Regions from separate parts of the Homo sapiens genome. Here all the other regions are linked to region 3. Evidence: promoter capture Hi-C in 16 types of primary human blood cells and fetal thymus (Javierre and others, 2016). All regions are on one chromosome and are shown on one strand. The core of a region is centred on a gene start or on the middle of the fragment in contact, and the rest is flanking DNA. Distances in the headings are between cores, read along the strand shown.

Region 1 (4,822 bases), core at 175-2,674, 320 kb after region 3:
TCTGATTGTGCACTTGGCCTCTCAGTTACCTTTCCTAGAAGGGATACACGAGACCTTCACCTAGCAACATGACTACTGCACTTGAAATGTGGCTAATCCAGGCACTTTGGGAGGCCAAGGAGGGAGGATCACTTGAGCCCAGGAGTTTGAGACCAGCCTGGGCAACATGGTGAGATCCTATCTTTATAAAAAGAAAAAAAAGAAGAAGAAAGTAACTAAATAAAAATAAAACTCTGTTAAAAAAAAAAAGAAAGAAAGAAAAGTGGCTATCTGAATTGAGATTTGCTGTAAGCATAAAATCCATCCCAGATTTGGAAGACTTTGCATGAAAAAAATACAAAACATCTTACTAATGATTTTTTACATTGATTACATGTAGAAAGTATAATATTTTGAATATGTTGGGTTAATTAAAATACATTAAAATTAATTTTACCTGTTTCTTTTTAGTTTTTTAAATATGTCTACTAGAAAATTCTAAATACATCTGTGACTTGCATTTTTATTTTATTTATTTATTTATTTCTTGAGACAGAGTCTCATTCTGTCACCCAGGCTGGAGTAGAGTGGCTCGATCTTGGCTTACTGCAGCCTCTGCCTCCCAGGCACAAACAATTCTCCTACCTCAGCCTCCCGAGTAACTGGGATTACAGACACCCACCACCATGCCTGGCTAATTTTTGTGTTTTTAGTAGAGACAGGGTTTCACCATGTTGGCCAGGCTGGTCTCCAACTCCTGACCTCAGGTGATCCACCCGCCTTGGCCTCCCAAAGTGCTGGGATTATAGGTGAGAGCCACCGCACTCCACCAACTTGCATTTTTGACAGAATTATATGTCTATTAAAGAGCGCCAATTTAGAACACTGAACAATAATACCATAAACAATGTAAATATACATTCTCCCTGTAAATTAATAAATTGACAACTTGATTTAGAAATCTGACTTTGGTGAATTTTCACGGCACAAGTCTGTCCCTCACATATTGATCGATTTTGTATTTACAAACTCAAATACATCTCCTTCTATAGCCCTGCAAAATGAAGGATCACGCCTTCACTGAAGTGAGCAAATCAAAGTTTTGGCATCTTCTGAGCTTTCTGGGCACAAGCTGTCAGCTCAGCCATTTCTCTGCCTGCAATTTCGCTCTTGGTTTATAATCTTGGGTTTAGGCTGTTTTTCAAGGGATAGAGTTGGTATCATTCATATTTGTTTTCCTATCACTTATGTTCCTTAAACAAAGGATTTTAAAAGTTTGTTAAATATTCTACATTTTATGCCTTTGATCATAGCTGTAAGACTGCTTGCCTTGAAAAGGATTTGCACATAATTCTCCATGGTTTTTTTCTTAATATGTTAATTGCAAACCGCTTGTAAAGATTGAGTACATGAAGATCTGAAAGACAGCAGTTATTTACAGTCATGTAAAGTAAAAATGGCAAGTGATATCTAATTAATAGCTAATAACCTAATAATATGGAGTGGAAACTTGATAACCATTACAGCACACTGTATTTTATTATCAAGGACAGAGCCTTAGAGACAGACCACAGAATTGATGTTTCATCATTATGCGATGGCCTACATTATATGACCTCTTATTTGTCCCTCAACTCCAATAGCAACCTCAAGGCTGATATAGAATAGCAGTGGAAAGGAAAATAAATGACACAAAAAGAAAAGTAGGTTTATCATGGGACCAATGTAGTGCTTTGGCCTCATAGCAGAGACCAGATGGTAGCAGCTCCTCTCTCAGCAGGTAGCTCTTCAATATCCTACGGGTTGTAAACAACAAATTCACATCATCTCCACCTGCTAATAAGTATTTTTTAAAATATTGCGGCAACATCGAAACAATGCTGAAAATACAATCCCTCAATATAAGAAAAAAAGTTTTCCTAAATATTTAGTCTGTTAAAAGAAAAAGTCTTTTCTGAGAAATGCTATTACCCACTAGAAAATCTTGGCTTCTTAAAATCCAAGAATATTCTCATCTCTTTTTTTTTTTTTTTTCTTTTTTTGAGACAGAGTCTCACTCTGTTGCCCAGGCCAGAGTGCAGTGGCGCGATCTTGGCTCACTGCAAGCTCCACCTCCCAGGTTCAAGCGATTCTCCTGCCTCAGCCTCCTGAGTAGCTGGGATTACAGGCACGTGCCACCATGCCCGGCTAATTTTTGTATTTTTTAGTAGAGACGAGGTTTCACCATATTGGCCAGGCTGCTCTCCAACTCCTGACCTTGTGATCCACCTGCCTCGGCGTCCCAAAGTGTTGGGATTACAGGCGTGAGCCACAGCGCTCGGCCTCTTTTTTTTAAATAAAGTAAATGGCCCTCATTTTACCCAATTTTGTGACTTTGTAAAAGCCAATGAAAATGCCTGAGAAACTACTGACATTAGTTTTACTGCAGTTAAATATTTGTTAACTTTGCCAGGCGCGGTGTCCCGTGCCTGTAGTCCCAGCTACTTGGGAGGCTGAGGCAGGAGACGGCTTGAGCCCAGGAGTTCTGGGCTGTAGTGTGCTATACCGATCGCGTGTCCGCACTAAGTTCGGCACCAATATGGTGACCTCCCAGGAACAGGGGACCACGAGGTTGCCTAAGGGGAGGGGTAAACTGGCCAAGGTCAGAAATAGAGCAGGTCAAAACTCCCGTGCGGATCAGTAGCAGGATCGTGCTTGTGAATAGCCACTGCACTCCACCCTGGGTAACAGACCCTGTCTCTCTAGATAGATAGATAGATAGATAGATAGATAGATAGATAGATAGATAGATAGAGCGTATATATATACATATGCTAATTCTATAGAAACATGTAACTGTCCTTTGACATTTTAATAAAAATTGTGTATACAAGATTTCAAATTTAATTATTCTCTTCTCCTTCCATAGGATCAAAGACATCTTTTGGTTGCACAAGAAAAAGTGAAGCAAATATTCTCTGAAAAGTGACTGATGCCAATAAAACGTATAATTTTTGTATGTTTAATAGAGATGGGGTTTCACCATGTGTTGGCGCGCGCCTGTAGTCCCAGCTACTCTGGAGGCTGAGGCAGGAGAATCGCTTGAACTCAGGAGGCGGAGGTTGCAATGAGCCGAAATCGTGCTACTGCACTCCAGCCTGGCAACAGAGCGAGACTCTGTCACACACACAAAAAAAGTATAATTTGATGACAGTTTTTCTTCAATAGTTTAAGACACTTCTAACAAACTATAATTTAGTTGTCCTAATTAAAAGAAGAAAAATGTTAATAATCTCACACAGTGACCTCTACAAAATGTCCCTCAATGGACCCATTCTTTCCTTCGGAGAGAGAGGAAAAGGATCCTACATCTTATACCTTAAAGCTCTTAATCACTTTACATGTGGGCTACATGTCATTTTTCAACGGTTTCCCTCTGGGTAGCTGGTTGCTCCAATATTTTCCAGAATTGATTCGTTCTTAGGTACCAACTTGACCGTTCAATTCAGCAATTCTGGCTTTAAAATAGAAGAAAAGGCCGGGCGCGGTGGCTCACGCCTGTAATCCCAGCACTTTGGGAGGCCGAGGAGGGCAGATCACGAGGTCAGGAGATCGAGACCATCCTGGCTAACACGGTGAAATCCTATCTCCACTTAACATACAAAATATTAGCCAGGCGTGGTGGCGGGCGCCTATAGTCCCAGCTACTCGAGGCAGGAGAATGGCGTGAACCTGGGAGGCAGAGCTTGCAGTGAGCCGAGATCGTGCCACTGTGCTCCAGCCTGGGCGACAGAGCAAGACTCTGTCTCAAAAAAATAAATAAATAAATAAATAATAAAATAAAATAGAAGAAAAATAGGAGTAGGAACAACGTGGAATAGTAGGTTAGCCCCTGGGGACAAGAAGAGAAATTCACTTAAGCAAAGGTCACCTAAGTGCAAACTTGAACCAGACTGTGCACAAACAAGTGACAGAAGCGAAAGTGGCCTCAGCTGCAAACGCAGCACTTGATAAACCACACTCATGATCAGCCCTCATTTCCACCTTAGAGAGATTGAAAACATACCTAACTCCACCATTTATAGCTGCTGAGCAGGTGGATGACATTCGTCAACGTGGGGTTTAGAATAATGCAATGTTTGAAATAAAATTAGAAAGAAAATAAGGCCAGGCACGGTGGCTCACGCCTCGAACCCCAGCATTTTGGGAGGCCGAGGCAGGAGGATCGCTTGAGCCCAAGAATTCGAGACCAACCTGGGCAACAGGACAAGACTCCATGTGTATTAAAAAAAAAAAATTAAGAAAACAAAAGCTTTGTTAATCGTTAAGTAAGGATTGCAAAATGGAAGACAGTAAAGAAAAGGAAGGTCCTAAGAATCTGACCCACGAGTTTCAGTCCAAGTAACCTGGACCTGCCCAGAGGAAGCAAAGCGGAAGTAGGATCCAAAACGCTTTCAGCAGGCCGCCTGCGCCCCCGCGCATGCGCAGGTCTCTGACCGTTTTGGCGGGTGCGCGCCAGCCCTAGTTTATCTAGAGGGGAAGGGCGGTGCGGGACCACGTGACTGGGGTTGCGGCATTTCTGGCCCAATCCGAGACGGTTTCGTAGAGCGCCCTGTAGAGCAATTCGGGTTGCCCGGGTCCTTTCCGAGTCTTGACCTCCTCTTTTGCTTCTGGCTTTTCGACTCTGCTCTCGAATCTAAAAATTTGCCTTGGCAGAAGTTTTTCCCTGTGTTCCAGGAATTACATTAGGGACACACTCTAAAGTGATCAGCACTTTTTATTTTTTTCCTTCATCAACTAAAATAACATTGCTGTCTCCCCAAGACGCTCGAATTCTGTTCTATTGCTTGAGATTCCAGAATCG
Region 2 (5,025 bases), core at 473-2,972, 300 kb after region 3:
GTGCCTGGCTAGTTCTATGAATTTTAACACTTGCAAATTACTGAGAACTTGATATTTAAAAAATAAAAAAGGAGTTTGGACTGTCACTAACTTCCTCCCCTCATCAAATTTCTCACTGACTTAGTTGATTTCACTGAAGAACTAAACAAAAAATAAGAATAATCGGGCCGGGAGCAGTGGTTCATGCCTGTAATCCCAGCAGTTTGGGAGACTGAGACAGGTGGATTACTTGAGGCCAGGAGTTTGCGACCAGCCTGGGCAACATGGTGAAACCCCGTCTCTATTAAAAATACAAAAAATTAGCCAGGCTTGGTGGTGCATGCCTGTAATCCCAGTTTCTGGGGAGGCTGAGGCACGAGAATCATTTGAGTCTGGGAGGCGGAGGTTGCAGTGAGCAACCTGTATCAAAAAAATAATAATTTTTTTCTGTCTCAAAAAATAATAATTTTTTTTTTTGAGACAGAGTCTCGCTCTGTCGCCCAGGCTAGAGTGCAGTGGTGCAACCTCTGCTCACTGCAACCTCCCTGCCTCCCGGGCTCAAGTGATTCTCGTGCCTCAGCCTCCAGAGTAACAGGGACTACAGGCACGCACCACCACGCCTGGCTAATTTTTGTAATTTTAGTAGAGACGGGGTTTCACCATATTGCCCAGGCTGGTCTTGAACTCCAGAGCTCAAGTGATTTGCCCTCCTTGGCCTCCCAAAGTGCTGGTATTACAGACATTAGCCAGCATGCCCGGCCTAAATACATTTGTATAATTAAAAATATTTCATTCTTTATTAACATTTTCAGACCTAGTTTTTTTTATCATTTAGTGAAATTGAAAGTCATAGAGCTCTACAATCGTCAAGCTCTTATTAGCAGACCGTTGGAATGGAAATCTGTTTTAGCTACTGTAACGGTTAATACTGAGTGTCAACTTGATTGGATTGAAGGACGCAAAGTATTGATCCTGGGTGTGTCCGTGAGGGTGTTGCAAAAAGAGATTAACATTTGAGTCAGTGGGCCGGGAACGGCAGATCCACCCTTAATCTGGCACCCTAATCAGCTGCCAGTGCAGCTAGAATATAAGCAGGCAGAAAAATGTGAAAAGAGAGACTGGCCTAGCCTCCCAACCTACATCTTCCTCCCGTGCTGGCTGCTTCCTGCCCTCGAACATCAGACTCCAAGTTCTTCAGTTTTGGAACTCGGACTGGCTCTCCTTACTCCTCAGCCTGCAGATGGCCTATTGTGGGACCTTGTGATCATGTGAGTTAATAAACTCCCCTTTATTCTCCCATTAGTTCTGTCCCTTTAGAGAACCCTGACTAATACAGCTACCCAGAGCGGTTTGTGATCACTGCCCGATCTCTTCTTCAGAGGCTGTGGCATTACTGACTCTGTTTTTACTGGGTTCATCCTATTCTCTTTCTCTCTCTCTCTCTTTTTTTTTCTTTTGAAACAGGGTCGTGCTTTGTCACCAGGCTGGAGTACAGCAACATGATCTCAGCTCACTGCAACCTCTGCCTCCTGAGCTCAAGCAATCCTCCTGTCTCAGCCTCCAGAGTACCTGAGACTACAGGCACGTGCCAACTCACCCTGCTAATTTTGGAGGGGGCACAGGGTGGGATGGATTTGGTAGAGACAGGTTTTACCATGTTGCCCAGGCTGGTCTTGAACTCCTGGGCTCAAGCCATCCACCAGCCTCGGCCTCCCAAAGTGCTGGGATTACAGGTGTGAGCCACCGCACCTGGCCCCATTCTGATTAATGCAATTAGAAAGTCTTCTAATCATACAATAAAGCAAAGTGCAAATAGTTCTTATGCTTTCATCTTTAAAGGGCAACCAAATGATTTAGAATATATATATTTGAAACTATAACCTAGAAAAGTCATATGACTTGGAAGTAAAAAGCTAAAGCAAAACACAAAATCTGGAAATATATCATTCTGATCACAGAGAGAGGAGAGGTATATGTCACCAGATATTAAAAGGATCTTTTTTCAGTTATATAAAAAAGTCAAGCTATTCTGGAATATGCAATTATTTAAAACATCCAGAAGTTTTTCTAAAAAACAAATTATGGTAGAAATTTGTTTATATATTCATTGCTAATTTCTTAGCACTTTAAATCCCTTAGGTGAAGGAAAATTCCTTAGGTTTTTATATTAAGGAACTGTGGCAGGCAGAATAATCCCTCCTCACCCTAAGTCCATGTCCTAATCCTCAGAGTGAATATGTTACCTTACAGGACAAAAGGGATTTTGCAGGTGTGATGAAGTTAAGGATTTTGAGGCGGGGAGATTATCCTGGGCCCAGCGTAATCACAAGAGTCCTTATAAGTAAAAGAGGGAAACGGGAAAGTCAGAGCCAGAGATGCTGGAAGTGGAGGTCAGCGTGGTGCAATAGTTAGCTTTGAGATGAAGCGGGGCCATGAGCCAAGGAATTCGGGCAGCATCTAGAAGCTGGAAAAGCCAAAGAACAGATTCTCCCCTAGAGCCCGCAGAAGGAACACAGCCCTGTGGACACCTTGATTTTAGCACCGTAAGATCCATTTCCATCATCTAACCTCTAAAACTGTAAGAAAATTAATTTGTGTTAAGTGGCTTCATTTGTGGTAATTTGTTATAGCAACAATATGAAACTAATACAGGAGCATTTTATTAGTCTTTTAGTACTTTGACTATCCCGTTCAGTCAGAATTGTGGCATTTAAATAATTACATCTCATATATATATGTATTTTTTTTTTTAGATGGAGTCTTGCCCTGTCGCCCAGGCTGGAGTGCAGTGGGGCGATCTCGGCTCACTGCAAGCTCCGCCTCCTGGGTTCACGCCATTCTCCTGCCTCAGCCTCCCAAGTAGCTGGGACTACAGGCACCCACCACCACGCCGGCTTAATTTTTGTCTTGTTTTTTGTTTTTTTTTTTTTAGTAGAGACAGGGTTTCACCATGTTAGCCAGGATGGTCTCGATCTCCTGACCTCGTGATCCACCCGCCTCGGCCTCCCAAAGTGCTGGGATTACAAGCGTGAGCCACCGTGCCTGTCCAATTACATCTCATATTATCATGTTGGCTATAAAACTGTATGCACCCTTTTTATGGTTGCTAATAAAAATGTTTTTGCTCAAATATACTTGCTATTTACCTTTAAGTGAATAATGTATTCCAGAATTAAAATCCAGGGCAAATATACACACAATAAGGAGCACCACTCTAGCAATACCAGACACATTTAGTAGACATGACACATGCATTTAAATATGTGGAAAATTCTAAGCAGCTACCTATCAAATCTCAAGAGATAAAGTCCAGCAGCCCAACCACACTGGCTGTCAAACAGGCTGAAATTTGATTCAGAAAATAGAATCTGATTCAGAAGACAAAAATGGTAACGTTAACAATGCTATTTTGATGTGACCCTTTAGCAGAAAGCTGACCTTTTCGGCAGTTGTTAAAAAGCAAGGTATGTCTGTAGGAGAGAGCAGAGCTTGATAAATGAAGAAAACAGGTCTATCCCCATAATATAGAGAGAAATCACTGACAATTTAGTCTCATCTTGTTCCACTATCATTTTAACAGTGGAAGCTGCCACTGCGAAAGCTCGCTGCATGGCACCTGTTAGGCCTCATTCTCATCTCGCAGTTCCCAGAATTCCTCTTGATTGCAGCATCCATACACTCTTCATTTTCCTGCAAGGTATTATTTGGACACTCTTCAAGAATCCTTTTTCTTTTTTTTTCCCGAGATGGAGCCTCACTTCGTTGCCCAGGCTGGAGTGTAGCGGCGCAATCTCGGCTCACTGCAACCTCCTCCTCCCGGGTTCAAGCGATTCTCCTGCCTCAGCCCCCCGAGTAGCTAGGACTACAGGCGTGCGCCACCACACCAGCTAATTTTTGTATTTTTAGTAGAGGCGGGGTTTCACCATGTTAGCCAGGCTGGTCTCGAACTCCTGACTTCAAGGGATCCGCCCACCTCTGCCTCCCAAAGTGCTGGGATTACAAGCATGAGCCACCACACCCGACCCTCTTAAGGAATCCTAATTGCAACTTTTAAGGCTTGTAATTCCTCCAAATAACTAAAGCAATAGCACATACTCTAAAAAGAAAACTTTTCTTCCTTTGCCAATATATTGACAAATTTGGAAAAGATAAAATCCCAACATAATGTTCATTGTTCTTATGATTATGACTCTTGAAACTTTATGCAGATAACTCTGTACACAGACTAGTCCCTCATCTTTCCCAAAATGCTTAAGAAAAACAAGAATGTTTAATCCAGATGCTGTTTTCTAAATTGGCCAATTCAGTTTAGCACTTACATCTTAAGAAAGTAAGCTTCAAAAATTCTCCTGTTTCTCCTGTGATGTGTCAATATCATTTGGCCTTTGGCTTCAATTAGGACATGAGTTGATTTCTTCTTAGCCCTAACTAATGGTCATGTAGTAGACTGACTTTTCAAATAGTGTGTTTAGAATAAATTAGTTCATTACAGAACATTTTCTTTATTTTCAGCTGGCATCAATGTGGGCATCAAGGTGTCCTCCTACTAAGCAGTTTAATCTGAATTGGTAACATGGATTATATATACCTATAGTAACTTGGAGATTTTACTGTATTTCTCTTTTGAGATGTTTTACATAATTTTTTTCTCCTTGATGTGCTACTAAAATGTCTGTAGAAAACTGTATGCTTTAAGTCTAAACATCAAGTACAGTGTGGGTTGAAGGGATGATATCAAAAAAAAGCAAACTCCATCCTTTTTTTTTTTTTTTTTGTAGACAGAGTCTCGCTCTGTCACCCACGGCGTGGAGTGTAGTGGCACGATCTCGGCTCACTGCAACCTCCGCCTCCCAGATTCAAGTGATTCTCCTGCCTCAGCCTCCCAGTAGCTGGGACTACAGGCATGTGCCACCACGCCCAGCTAATTTTTTTGTATTTTTAGTAGAGATGGGGTTTCACCATGTTGGCCAGGATGATCTCAATCTCGACCTCGTGATCCGCCGCCTCGACCTCCCAAAGTGCTGGGATCATAGGCGTAAGCCATTG
Region 3 (4,902 bases), core at 1,554-4,053:
GAAGAGAATAAAGCCAGTGGTATTTCTTTTCAATTCTAAAGCATAGATATTTCCCCCTAAAACACAGGAAGGGTCCAGGTTTTCAGAATGACCCTGTTTCTCAAGTCCCTTAACTGCTAACCTAGGAGCTTATTCTCTGGAGAGTTTCTGAAGAAAGGCTTCTCTTTGCCTCAGTTTCCTTATCTGTAAAATGGGTGATAATAACGGTACTACTTCCTGAGGTCCCAGTGAGAATTAGATGAGTCAATACATATAAAGGGCCTAGGACACTACCTGGCACGTAGTAAGTGCTCCGTAGGTGTTAGCTTAACTTTATTATGAACTTTATTTCTTCCATCTTATTTGTACTGCTGTCTATTTGTGATCATATATTTTTCAATTACTAAGCATTAACAGTGGCCTTGTAACAGACTATTTCAGCCCCAGTGCACCTTTGGGGCAGCAGTTTGGCTGGTGGCTTATAAATAGTCATCCCCCAGATCAGAGGCACCCACGCTTTTCTACAGACACAGTGGAAGTTGTATCTGTTAATTTCATTCATTGAGAAAATACACTGTAGATAAAAGAATCCAGCAAAGCCTTTAAATTAATTGGTAACTTTATTAATAACAATAGCATCTATACACATTTGAAAACACACATGTAGGAGACAGTTAAGATCTATTCAGTCTGTGATAATGTCTAGAGCTCATTTGGATTCATCAAACCCCTGCCATCAGCTCCAAAAGCCCTTAGCCAAAAACAGCTGAATCACTCATCAAACCATCAGTGTCTTCCTCGGCAGAATCAAGGGTTGGACAGAAAGAGTAAATATTCTGCACCTCCACAAAATAAAACTAAAATGCAATTGTCCTGCATCTGAGAATACAAGGGTGGACAGTATGAGCTGCATGACTGTGAACCAATGAGGCTTCTCTTGGCCTCATTTGTAAAAAGGAGATTAACTCTGTAGTCCCGCCTATATTGCATGGCCTCCAGAAAAGCAAATGAGGTGGTAAGTGTAAATTAAAAGCTCCTCTCCTTTAAGAGGGGAACACCATGAGGGGAGAGTAAGAAAAGGAGAAGGAAAAGGCTCTTTCCAGTGACCAACACGCTGAATTTGATGAAAATCCATAAGAGGTTATGCTAAACTGAGAAGCATAAGGGTGGATCTACCATTGCCACCTCCTCTTTGTAGCAAAAAAAATCTTAACACGGCCCCCTCCCAGCTGTTGCACTGAGGTGACTAAGGATACATTTTGAGGAAGTAGCTCCAAGAACATTTCCATTTTCACTGTGCCTTCACATACATCTAATGGAAATGAACAGCACCCTTCATCCATCCACGGAAGCGATTAAGAAAAGGGTGGGATGGAAAAATTAACCCAACAATATTAGATCAATACGTAGTATTTAAGTGTCCATAATGTGCCAGGCTGAAGATGCACGGGAAAACCACACTAGCCGGTCTGTCAAGGGCTTGAGAATACCATAAACAAGAAAACAGACGAACCAATTTCAGACAGCTGCTAGAAGGAAGATAAAATGAGACAGGCAAGTATGAGAGGCGCGAATTCCTGAGTGGATGACGTAGGTCTCTGAGAGGTGACTTTTGAGCCCGTATCTACATGGTAAGTGCCTCGCAGTGACCTGGGGCCGTAGCGTTACCATTTAAAGCACAGACCATTAAATGCAGAAATTATCAACAAAATGAGAAATAGGAATTTCAAAGTCTCAAAGTGAACGACGGAAACTGAAATCTACAAATTAGAAAAAGGCGCAGAATTTTGAATATTCTTGTCGCCCAATCAGGACAAGGCTGGGACCCGGCTGCGCGGCCTTCGTCCAAAATACACAGAACGGCTGGTATCCACAGGAGGCCCCATCGCACGGCAGAACTGGTGACCGGACACAAAAGCTGCTGCCAAGCGTCAGTCATACAGAGCTGTCACGCAGTGTTTGCGGAACCCGGGCTGAATTGTGTCCTGGAGTTCTCTTAAATGACAGCCGAACTCAGCCACTTCGTTTTAGAATGAAACAGACCCAAGGAGCCACCAGGGCGCGTGTGGGGCGGGAGTGGGGGCGGGTAAAGAGGCGGATTCCCAACAGCCTAATTGAGAACCGACTCCTGGGAAGGCTAAGCAGCACAATGAGTAAAGACACGCTCTAGATTCAAAAGCAAATCCAATGACGCACTGGGGACCTCGAGTTCCAAATAGTTAAAAAGCTACGTATGCCATTTCCCATGACCTTCACACTAAAATAACTTACTTTATGAAAAGAAACTAAGGGAATAAGTGAACAAGCTCTTTTCTAGTGATTAGGTGGGTGGCTCTGAAAAGAGCCTTTGGAGTCAAGCAGCCGGCGACTCGAGCGAGCGAGCGCCAGGTCCCGGCAGGGACTCACTTGGAGCTGGTGTACTTGGTGACCGCCTTGGTGCCCTCGGACACGGCGTGCTTGGCCAGCTCGCCGGGCAGCAGCAGGCGCACGGCCGTCTGGATCTCGCGGGATGTGATGGTGGAGCGCTTGTTGTAGTGCGCCAGGCGGGAAGCCTCTCCCGCGATGCGCTCGAAGATGTCGTTGACGAAGGAGTTCATGATGCCCATGGCCTTGGACGAGATGCCGGTGTCGGGGTGGACCTGCTTCAGCACCTTGTACACGTAGATGGAGTAGCTCTCTTTGCGGCTGCGCTTGCGCTTCTTGCCGTCTTTCTTCTGGGCTTTGGTGACGGCTTTCTTGGAGCCCTTTTTAGGGGCCGGAGCGGATTTTGCCGGTTCAGGCATGGTAAGACACAGTACAAACGCGGCTTAGCCAAGAAAAGAAGTAAGAGAATGGGCGGGCCTGATTCTTTTATAACCACCTTATGCAAATTAGGGCTCCGAAAGTCGTTCATTTCCATTGGTCCGTGTGCGGACCTTGCGTTTTCAGCAATGCGTACGTAACAACACCGACTCTTGACTTGATTGGCCGGTTCTGAAGCCATATTAGGACCAATGAAAAACTCGTTCTTGACCCCACCCCTAGGAAAGCTTATAAAGGCTTTCCTCTTGGTTCTCTTTCAATCTTATTTTGTTGCGAGGTTCTGAGCGTTGTCTGTGTTTAACCTTGATTTCAGTCATGTCTGGTCGTGGCAAACAAGGAGGCAAGGCCCGCGCCAAGGCCAAGTCGCGCTCGTCCCGCGCTGGCCTCCAGTTCCCGGTAGGGCGAGTGCACCGCTTGCTGCGCAAAGGCAACTACGCGGAGCGGGTGGGGGCCGGCGCGCCCGTCTACATGGCGGCGGTCCTCGAGTACCTGACCGCCGAGATCCTGGAGCTGGCGGGCAACGCGGCTCGGGACAACAAGAAGACGCGCATCATCCCTCGTCACCTCCAGCTGGCCATCCGCAACGACGAGGAACTGAACAAGCTGCTGGGCAAAGTCACCATCGCCCAGGGCGGCGTTTTGCCTAACATCCAGGCCGTTCTGTTACCAAAGAAAACCGAAAGCCACAAAGCCAAAAGCAAATAAATGCAGACAAACAAACCAAGACCAAAGGCTCTTTTTAGAGCCACCCAAGTTTTCAAAAAAAGAGCTAATGCGCTATTTCGTGATCAGCCCTTCATTTGACACTTTGGTGGCTCTTAAAAGAGCCTTTGGGGTGAATGAGTATGGTGTCAAGCCTCTTAATTACTTGTTCTTGCCAGGCTTGTGACTCTCCGTTTTCTTGGGCAACAGGACAGCCTGGATATTGGGCAAGACGCCGCCCTGGGCAATGGTGACACCCCCGAGTAACTTGTTGAGCTCTTCGTCATTCCTCACGGCTAGTTGCAGATGGCGAGGGATGATGCGCGTCTTCTTGTTGTCCCGAGCCGCGTTGCCCGCCAGCTCCAGAATTTCCGCGGTCAGGTACTCGAGGACCGCCGCCAGGTACACCGGGGCGCCTGCCCCGACCCGCTCCGCGTAGTTGCCTTTGCGCAGCAAGCGGTGCACTCGCCCCACCGGGAACTGGAGACCAGCGCGGGACGAGCGCGACTTGGCCTTAGCGCGGGCCTTGCCTCCCTGCTTTCCGCGTCCTGACATTACGGCTAAAATTGCAGTTACAGCTTCTTTTACAAGGAGAAGAATGTGGAAAGAATAACCAATTTGATGTAATTTATAAGAGCTACCGGGAGGGGTGAAGGGAAGTCGTTTGATTGGCTAAAAGCGGAGCCGTATCTAACAGCCAATAGAAAAGCAGAAAGCCGCCTCTTGGTTTGCGTCCTGCACTGAAAGGAAATGACGGATTTTGTAAGTATCTACCAATCGCTGAGAGCCACATTAAAGCCCCTTATTTGCATGCCAGGATCTTTAAAGAGAGCAGGCTTTCAAACAAAATACTGGTTTTGTTTTACTGAGAGGCACTGTGGGTTTTTGTTTTGTTTTGCTTTGCTTTGTTTAGTTTACAGCCGGGAAATCCCAATATGGACCCTAAGGAACTGCAGAAGACATCCTTAGACGGAGAGTTACTCTCACGAAAGAGTAGGGGATTCTGAAGCCGATGATCCCCTTGAGCTCTAAACTGCCAAGTCCCGCCCTTTCTGTCTCGTCACAGCCAAATTCCCTTTAAAAATACATGTACTACTAAGGCTGCCTCCTTTCTCGCCCCTAAACTTAAGTCGCCCGCAGCGGCGTGTCTCCGCCCCACCCCCACCCGCCTGCACTCCTCGGAATCCGGTTTGACCGAGGCTAGAATAGATTTGTCATCCTCCTCTTGACCTCCAGGAGGCGGCCTTCAAACTTGCTCCCTTGGCTTTCAAAATGTCGCCCTGTTTTTCTTCTTACCTCGCCGACTTTTCTTATCCTGCTCCCCCATGCCACTGCCCATCTCTAAATCTGCGAGTCCAGCTGGACTGTTTCCCTGTCTCCAATTCTTCACTTATCCCGAAGAGTCTTACCCATTTATAT

The links. The method cuts DNA at HindIII sites, captures the fragments that hold promoters and counts their contacts. A CHiCAGO score of 5 or more calls a contact.
Region 1: a contact is called between a fragment that was not itself captured here and the fragment with the promoter of H2BC21 in region 3, in 16 of 17 cell types (fetal thymus, endothelial precursors, erythroblasts and 13 more). The highest score is 11.4, in fetal thymus.
Region 2: a fragment that was not itself captured here is called in contact with the fragment with the promoter of H2BC21 in region 3 in 17 of 17 cell types (erythroblasts, megakaryocytes, fetal thymus and 14 more); the score reaches 16.0 in erythroblasts.

Annotation. Positions count from the first base shown.
Region 1 is chr1:150,209,206-150,214,027 of GRCh38, forward strand. It overlaps the pseudogene RN7SL480P. Among named protein-coding and RNA genes, the nearest start is that of ANP32E, 24 kb to the right of the region's middle. The HindIII fragment of the contact is 5,688 bases long and covers 1-4,268 here.
Region 2 is chr1:150,188,936-150,193,960 of GRCh38, forward strand. No RefSeq gene overlaps it. Among named protein-coding and RNA genes, the nearest start is that of LINC02988, 31 kb to the left of the region's middle. The HindIII fragment of the contact is 5,180 bases long and covers 1-4,312 here.
Region 3 is chr1:149,883,879-149,888,780 of GRCh38, forward strand. It overlaps H2BC21 (H2B clustered histone 21), which reads right to left and starts at 2,804. Exons shown (of 1, transcript NM_003528.3): 1 at 581-2,804. The coding sequence starts at 2,762. The coding sequence ends at 2,382. It overlaps H2AC20 (H2A clustered histone 20), which reads left to right and starts at 3,040. Exons shown (of 1, transcript NM_003517.3): 1 at 3,040-3,533. The coding sequence starts at 3,097. The coding sequence ends at 3,486. H2AC21 (H2A clustered histone 21) reads right to left here and starts at 4,087. Exons shown (of 1, transcript NM_175065.3): 1 at 3,591-4,087. The coding sequence starts at 4,038. The coding sequence ends at 3,646. RefSeq lists enhancers at 1,407-2,000, 1,778-1,857, 2,268-2,357, 2,428-2,717, 3,038-3,107 and 6 more. The HindIII fragment of the contact is 10,069 bases long and covers 1-3,006 here.